3 separate regions of the Homo sapiens genome follow, and regions 1 and 3 are each linked to region 2. The links are contacts of gene promoters, found by promoter capture Hi-C in blood cells and fetal thymus (Javierre and others, 2016). All regions are on one chromosome and are shown on one strand. The core of a region is centred on a gene start or on the middle of the fragment in contact, and the rest is flanking DNA. Distances in the headings are between cores, read along the strand shown.

Evidence for each region. The method cuts DNA at HindIII sites, captures the fragments that hold promoters and counts their contacts. A CHiCAGO score of 5 or more calls a contact.
Region 1: a contact is called between a fragment that was not itself captured here and the fragment with the promoter of FBXO34 in region 2, in 1 of 17 cell types (naive CD4 T cells). The highest score is 5.2, in naive CD4 T cells.
Region 3: a contact is called between a fragment that was not itself captured here and the fragment with the promoter of FBXO34 in region 2, in 1 of 17 cell types (non-activated CD4 T cells). The highest score is 5.2, in non-activated CD4 T cells.

The regions. Positions count from the first base shown.
Region 1 is chr14:55,583,872-55,586,926 of GRCh38, reverse strand. The region is part of intron 1 of KTN1 (kinectin 1); the gene reads right to left. Among named protein-coding and RNA genes, the nearest start is that of KTN1, 5.2 kb to the right of the region's middle. The HindIII fragment of the contact is 4,433 bases long and covers 1-3,055 here.
Region 2 is chr14:55,269,978-55,272,768 of GRCh38, reverse strand. It overlaps FBXO34 (F-box protein 34), which reads right to left and starts at 1,348. Exons shown (of 2, transcript NM_017943.4): 1 at 1,232-1,348. It overlaps FBXO34-AS1 (FBXO34 antisense RNA 1), which reads left to right and starts at 691. Exons shown (of 2, transcript NR_184222.1): 1 at 691-887. RefSeq lists a silencer at 797-1,296. The HindIII fragment of the contact is 2,090 bases long and covers 1-1,915 here.
Region 3 is chr14:55,631,740-55,634,545 of GRCh38, reverse strand. KTN1 (kinectin 1) reads right to left here. Exons shown (of 44, transcript NM_001079521.2): 8 at 1,205-1,311; 9 at 1-20. Among named protein-coding and RNA genes, the nearest start is that of KTN1, 53 kb to the right of the region's middle. The HindIII fragment of the contact is 774 bases long and covers 872-1,645 here.

The DNA.
Region 1 (3,055 bases), core at 164-2,663, 310 kb before region 2:
TTAAGAAATGTCTATAAGATCACACAAGAGTAACTTATAATGAACATATGCAGGAAATGAAACAGAAAAGTTTCTTGGAAACAAAAGGACGACATTCTATCTACTGCTTTCCATATAACTAAAACATTTTATAGCATGTGGTTTAAGTAGCTTTTACTGTTTTCTCCACTTGAAAAACTTCAAGTCTTTAAATTTAAATCACTAGTTTTAAGAATTAATCTTCTAATTCCTATGGGGGGGAGGGGGATCCTTATAACCTTAATTTAGCTTTGTAATGCCTAACATTAGACAGCTGCACATGGACAGCGTTTTGTTTTCTTCAGAAAGCATTCTTATAAAACAGCTCAACGGGTAAGAATGGGCTCTAAGTCAGAATGCCTCAGTTAAAATTCAGGCTCCTCCTAAAGATATTTGTGTCTTTGAACAAATTATTTGTCTCCCTAGTTTTCACCAAATAGTACCTACCTCATAAGGTTGTTGAGAAGATTAAATATGATATGATATGATAATGCACCTAAAGCATTTAGAGTTTGACAGCAAATATGTACTCCAATGTTAGCTATCACTTATGAGGCAACTACTGAGGTAAGATAATTCCTTAATGAGCCTTAGGCAGGTTAATATAGGTTAAGATCACACATGCAGTAAGTGGTACTGACTAGCAAAACTAAATTCAAGCCCAAGGTCTTCAGGCTCCCTAGTGCCCAAGCTGTTTCCACTACCCCACAGAACATTATGTAATTAAAGAACTGGACAATAAAGAACTTGCATAAAACCTTAGAGTTAATAAGGTCTAAGACCTGTAGGTCTCCTAACTAGTGACTTCCAGCTTATTATACCAGACCAGATTGTTTCCTTAACAACTCAATGACTCATGCATAAGAATAATAATTGTCCCACATTTTCCAGCGAAAATGCAGTGTAACATCATGTCTCCTGATAGACAATGTACACTTACTTGAATTCACATAAGTTCTGAAAACTAATTGTAGATGTTACTCAGAGTCAAAATAAAGAAATAAGGGTAAATAACATTCTCTTCTAGTAATTATAGGCTGCTATGATCCTACGGCCCCTATGGAACCTATTCAAAGTGGAAGCTGTCTTACAGGATCTCTCACTGGATTAACTGACATTCTCCTCCTTTGTAAAAATACATGGGCTGGTGTCTTCAGAAAGCTGTTTCTGGCTAGCAATTACTCTCCTACTCACTTATTTCTATATATCTATCAAACATGAAAATAGAGTCAAAAGGTGTTATTTCTATAAAAATGACATTAAATCCTTTGGAAGGCCTTGATGAATAACTGGAAAAATCTATAAAGATTTTGTACTTGGAGAGTTTCCCAGTGCCTATCTTTTCATTCCACTTTAAAGAAACCAATACTAGAAATCATAGATAATGCTTTTAGAGTACAATCTATGAAAGGAAAATCAGGATAACCTTTATTTTAAGAAAAGAAATCAGTAAAAATAAAAAGGCAAATAAAAGTAAAATCAAATATTTTAAGTGAAAACATTTAAGGTGCACATATATTTTGATTCCTTGCTTTAACCAACTTTTTGAATTAACTAACAAATGGTCCTAATCATGTGGAGTATGTAAGAGGGTCTCCACCACACTCTAACATCATTCCTTCCACCAAGCAGCTCCCAAAGGCTCCATGCCACTTTCTTCCACTCTCTGACCATCCCTGAAAGAGGAAAGGAGCAAACTGAAAACTACATGTATCCAATAATGAGTTATCCATCAAAGGAAGGAATGTGAGATTTTTTTTTTTTTTTTTTTTTTTTTGAGACACAGTCTCACTCTGTCACCCAGGCTGGAGTGCAGTCGCACCATCTCAGCTCACTGCAACCTCCACCTCCCTGGCTCAAGCAATCCTCCCACCTCAGCCTCCCAAGAAGCCGGGACCACAGGCACACGCTACCATGCCTGGCTATTTTTATATTCTTTTTAAAGATGGGGTTTTGCCACGTTGCCCAGGCTGGTCCCAAACTGCTGGGCTCAAGCAATCCACACACCTTGGCCTCCCAAAGTGCTGGCATTACAGATGTGGGTCATCACACCCAGCCAGGATTTAATTATTGTGTTCAACAAATTCTTATTGAGGACCTGCTATGTGCTAGACACTGCTCTGAACTCTTAAAGAGTCATCAATAAAACAGACAAAAAGCCTACCCTCATAGAAGCTATGTAATACTGTGTTTGAGGGTTATGTGGAAGAGACAATAAACACAACCAGGAAATTATATAGTATGACAGAAGGTGACAAATGCTATAAAGAAAACGGAGCAAGGTACAAGAATCAGACGTAGGGGAGTGCAGTTTTAAATAAAATAGGCACATCTTTTTAAGAAACTGACATTTAAAAAGCAAAGACTGGACGGAGACAACAAGCCATGCATGTATCTACAGGGTAACAGCCAGTGTAAAAAACAGCTCTGTTTCCTCCATGGCACTTGTCACCTTCTTGCCAGGAGAAGTAAACAGTATATAATTTCCTCATTGATTGTGTTTATTATCTCTTCCCCTTGCCCTCAAACATACACTATTACACAACTTCTATCAGGGCAGAGCTTTTCGTCTGTTTTGTTTATTGATGGAGCCTAAGCGTTTAGGGCAGTGTCTGATATGTAGCTGCCCTTAGGAAAACCATTGGAGCCAGAGAGAAGTAAGCAGAGGGATGATAGTAGCTAACCTTAGAGGTAAGGGGGAATGAGGAGAGTGGAAGTGTCCAGATTCTGCATGGCCTTAAGGACATAAGAACTTCAGCTTTCACTGTGCATAGAGAAAGTCACTGTAGCATTCTGAGAAGATAAGTAATATGATCCAGTTGTTGTGTTGGAAAGACTGCAGGGAGTTAGGGCAGAGGCAGGGAGATCAGTTAGGAGGCTAATTGCAGAAATCTAGGTAAGAGATAAGAATGGCTTGCACCAGGCTGGTGAGCAGTGGAAGCAGTAAGTACTGATTGGATTCTGGTTATATTTTCAAGATAAGACAGAGCACAGAATGCCAAGTGTGAAAGAAATAAGTCAGGGATGACTCCAACGT
Region 2 (2,791 bases), core at 99-2,598:
CTTCTAAACCATGGTAGCATGGGGTGGTAGCATGGTACCATAGGGTGGGATAGGGACAACCTGGATAAATTAACTCCTCAGGTAATTATTATTTAAGACAAATGTTGGATTAATTCAAACTCCTCCCTCCCTTTACAACAGAAAAAAAAAATCATGTAAGATCCACTCTCCCTCCTCCTGGCCATTTTCTAACAAAAAATGCTAACAAGCAGATAGATGTCCAGTTAAAAAAAAAAAAAAAAAGCAAACTGATTTATCAACACTAGAAGTGGTTCTCTTTTTTTTCAGTAATTCTGATTGCAAACTATCAAACTACGAATTTAGCTTCCTAAAAGGCTTTTTACATTACACCCTCCAAAAAACCTCCTACCCTGACTTAAGTTTTTCTAAATCAAATGTCTTATACTGAGCTGTACTCGCAACGCTTGCTGGACAAGAAGTTAAAGAAATTGACAACTATTACATTAAAATTGCAAAATGCTGATACCGAACAACTTTCGATTCAAATCCACTGCGATTCCAAGCGTTCGTGGAAGACAACTTCCTTTTTCTACCCTGCGGGTCCCCCCGGCCCTTCCGTGAGCCCAGGTCCCCGCCCGGGCCTGCAGTGACATCCCAGGACCCATCTTCTGACGTCACAGACACACGGACCCACAGCCCTATGACTTCATCGTGGACTGAGGACGAACCGCAGTCGACTTGCGCCAGCCCAGAGGCTGGGGAGGCGTCCGAGCCTCCGTCCCGCCTCGTCGTTGAAGAAGGTTAAGGACAAGCGCCAGCTCACCTGCGCTGGGGCAGGGAAGGGCAGAGTGGCCGAGCCCGGGAGGGCGCGACAGGGGCGAGGCGACCCCAGTCCAGAGGCTGACTTCCTCACCGCCCTGGGTCCCGTAAGTGGGAGCGCCGGTCCGGTGCAAGCTCACGGCCTATCCGTGAATCTCCTCGGCTTCAGCGGGGACCCAGGACCCCGCTCCCTACCCGCCCGACCCTCCGTGGCCCGCGGGGACGCTCAGCGCCCGGGCCGTGCGCGCGGAAAGAGCCGCACCGGAGGAGGCGCAGGCGGCCGGGTCCCTACCCCGGACCCGCGGGCGGCGCCCCCGCCCCCACCCCCACCCGCCCCGCGCCCCGGGAGCGCAGGCAGGCGGCGGTAGGGGGCGGGGAGCGGCCACGGTGGCCGCCGCCGGACCCCAGTCGCGCGGCCCTCGCGCCACGCCCCACCTCGGCCCGGACCCACCTGCGCTCCTGCCCCGGCCGCGGCCTGGCCCGGGGCTGCACCAGCCCGACGCAGTGGTGGCGGCAGCAGCGGTGGCGGGAGGCCTGGCTCACTCCCCACCGCTGAGTCGGACCGAGCACCCAGCGCGGCGCGGCGGCGCCCAACGCTCGCCCCGAAACCCATTTGTTTGGCTAAAACGGAGTGACGTCACGCGCCGGCCCAATCGACGGTTGGCCGGGGGAGGGGCCACGGATCCAGAGTTTCACGGCGCCCCCTGCCGGACACTGGGGGCGGGAAGGGGGAAGTGAAAAGGGAGACCTGGATGACGCGTCTGCGGCCCCCAAGTGGTAGAGAATGAAAGTTTGAGCACGACTGTAGGGAAAGGAATCAAACCTCCCAGGCCAGCCAAGAAGGGTAGTGACGCCAGGGTTCAATCAGCAGACATGTCAAGTTTATGAATATTCGTGGGTGGACCTGAAGCTGTAAATGGTCTCAGATACTATTAGATAACCTAGTAGACCTGGATCCTCATACTGGTTCTGCTGCTAGCTTGGAAGGCTGGGGTTCAGAGTTTCAATTTGTAAAATGACAAAATTGGAAAGGTCCCTTCTGACTCTCTTTCCTATGAAAATCATGGCAGGGATACCGGTCAGAAAGTAGATAAACGTTGAGGCTGACACGAAACTGTTAAAGTCTGTAGAAGCTTAAGGGCTGGTTAATGATGGATATAAATTTTTAACACTTTATATTCAAATCAGAGGGCCAGTGAGGAACTTTTGATTCCCAATCTTTAAGCTTATTATTGTTTTCATTGTGAAAATAATATTAACCACATTGAAAAACATGAGGACAATGTATTTTCTTCTAGACCTTTTGCCCCATCACATATATTTTACTACACTGTAATAGTAGTTGTACGCGATTTTGCATCCTCTTTTCACTTTTATAAGCATTCCTCATATTTCCACATAAGCTTCATAACCAGTTTAACAGCTGCATAAAATTACATTAAGTGGACATAAAATTTACTGCAGTAATTCTCTATTTTTGGACATAACTTGTTTCCTTCATTCACTTTTTGCCATTATAAAGAAATCATAGAACATCTTCATGAATGTAGATTTTTAAAGATACCCAAAAGTGAAATTACTAGGTGAAAAAGACTATCAACACTTTCACAGTTACTAATACAAACTGCCAAATGATTTTTAAAAGGTTGTACCAAGTTACACTTAAACCAGCAACTTTGATTTTAGCCAGTCCTTAACAAAAATAATTTTGTCCAATTATAAAACTACTGTTGTAAAATATATGTGTAAAATCTTAAATATTAAAACGTAAAAACAAAATAAAAATATTTCCCATAATCTCATCACCAAGAAATAACCACTCAGTATCTCCATCTAGACCTTTATCTATATACATATTTTTAATAAAAATTGGAGAGGGGAAGTCCAGGCACGGTGGCTCACATCTCAAAAAGGAAAAAAAAAATTAAGGAAGGGTGTTATATGGTACACCGTGGCATCAAACTGTATGTCTGATTTAATATGTGAGCAATATTAGCTCAATATATCATGA
Region 3 (2,806 bases), core at 9-2,508, 360 kb before region 2:
TATTTAGTTCTGCAGACTGCCTGAAAACAGTAACTGGATTAGGAGCCTTCCGTTATTACAAATATATATAAGAAATAAACAAAACATACTTTGTTAGTTTTGCTGAGCTGAGCTAGTAGTTCCATTTACAGCCCAACTGAAACAGAACACAAGTGACTACTAACAATAAAGTTTAGTTGTATAATTCCTATATAATTCTAATGAGTTATTCAAATTCTAAAATCACTGTAAAATATCAAGAAAAATGGATGACCATAAATAGTGTCACCTTCAAACTGGTCTTCTGAAAACGTATTAAAAATCAGCCAGTCAGGGTACTGTGTACCGGTATTACTAGTCTCTCTAAGGTACTATTTCTCAAAGTATGGCCTCAGAGCCAATCACTATCACAAGGAAAGTGTCTTTTTTTTTTGAGACGGAGTGTGACTCTGTCACCCAGGCTGGAGTACAGTGGCACAATCTGGGCTCACTGCAACCTCTACCTCCCAGGTTCAAGCGATTCTCCTGTCTCCCGAGTAGCTGAGATTACAGGTGTGTGCCACCAAGCCCAGCTAATTTTTGTATTTTTAGTAGAGACAGGGGTTTCACCACGTTGGCCAGGCTGGTCTCGAACTCCTGACCTCAGGTGATCCGCCTGCCTCGGCCTCCCAAAGTGCCAGGATTACAGGCATGAACCACCACACCCGGCCCGAAAGTGTCTTAATATGTAGACTCCTGGGCTCTACCTCAGAGTCAGTGAATCATAATCTTTTAAGGGGAGGACTCAAGAATACACCTTTTAATTAGAATGCCAGGTGTTCTTCAGAACACTGAAGTTTGGGAGCTACTGTGAAAGGGGACAGATGGTTTAAAACTTATAAACTCATAAGCTTGTAGACCATTCCATTGGTGGTACTAGTATTTATTACATAGTTTATATACAATATACACATACATGTTTATATAAATATGTAATATATGATATATATTAATGTATTTGTATAAGTATATAATAGTATGACATTAATATAACATAGTTTACATATGTATAACTGAAGAAGTTCTTCACAAAGCAAAAGAGAATTGTTTTTAAAAGTAACTCATTTTAGAAACAAATGTAAAAACACAAAAGTCTAACCAATTACTATCAAACGCTATTAATATTTTGATGATTCAAGAAAATACTCTGCCATTCAATTAAAAAATAAGGTATTTGGAAACATACTTGCTTTCCAGTTGATTTGTAGTGTTGCTGACTGCATCTCTCAGTATACCATTTTCCTGCTTCAAGTGAGCTATCTCTGCCTCCATCTGCTCACGAACTTGCTGAAACTAAAATTATTTTACACACATAAAACTTAGAAAACAAAGACTGTCAAAGCTAACTTTTAAAATAAACTTTATTAAAATGAGAATATAAAAAACATCAATAGAATGAAGTTTGAATCATTCTTCTCAAATAAATATAAACAAATTTAAAAGAATTATATTTTGTTAGTGATGAATGCAAATCAAATACAAACTGTCACCACATTCAAGAATACAAGTAGATGCTAGCTGCTATCATATTTGAAATACAAGATAAACATGCTTAGAGATGATGTTTCAGAACTAAATATGATTTAGGATTTCTTTCCTACCGAATAGATTCATACAAAATTAAGCTTGTCCTGATCTTATGTCAATTATACATTAGCAATATTCTTAAAGTCTTTAGTAAGCCAAAGTTTAAAAACTGAAAATATGTTTGGTACACTTTATATTAAGTTACAAATTGGGCCATAATCATATAGATAACACAAAAACCTGCTTGCTAAAATATTCTGACCTCTTAATTTTTTTTCCAAGTTTTTACATTATAAAATACATATAACATAAAACGTACCATTCTAACCATTTTCAAGTATACAGTTCACTGGTATTAAATATATCCATAATGCTGTGTAATCATGACCACCATTCATCTCTCCATAACTCTCTTCATTGTGTAAAACACCTTCTACACCTTTTAACGAATAACTCCCATTCCTCTCCCTGCAGCCCCTGGCGACCACCACTCTAACTTTCTTCTTCTAATTTTTAAATTTTGGATTAAAGAATCTAAAGATAAAGGCACACTGACTCTTATATTCTCATAAGAACATGTTTTTGTATGAAATAATCTTATTAATAATTCTTTCAAAAGAAACTGTTGCTTATTAAGGGAAATTAAGGTATACATTTCTATTTTTCACAGAAGTTATCATATGGAATCTATATCCTGACCTCTGTAAGTAATCAAGTAAAACAGGATGAATCACTTAAATACCTTTCACCTTCAACAAAAGATGCTGCTACAAGTATCTGCCTAATTTTCAAATTAACAGGAATTAGGAATTAAGAAGAAAAGATCACTTGAGGCTAGGAAAATCAGTTCTTCACTAACTCAAATTGCTGGGGGATGAGAAGATGAAGGAATGAGTTAAACAAATGCTAAAAGCAGTGGATAGGGTAAGAACATGAAAACAGCATCATTCACTTCTTTTTTGCTATTAGTGGCATTTCAGAGGAAAACACTGGGACTCTGAAAGCAGCAAAGAATATTTTAAAATTTTTAGCAGACTAGCGATATTATCAAAGCAATATTTTACCAAAAAAAAATCTGGTACCAAATACAAGACGGAATGAAAATGACAAACCTATTAATATCAGCCATAATTATCCCAGTATGTAATAATAAACTAAAGACATGTCTAAGAATTGAATGCAAGAGTAACTAGAAATAAAGAGGTTTGGAGTTTTTTGTTTTTTGAGACAGGGTCTCACCCTGTCACCCAGGCTGCAGTGC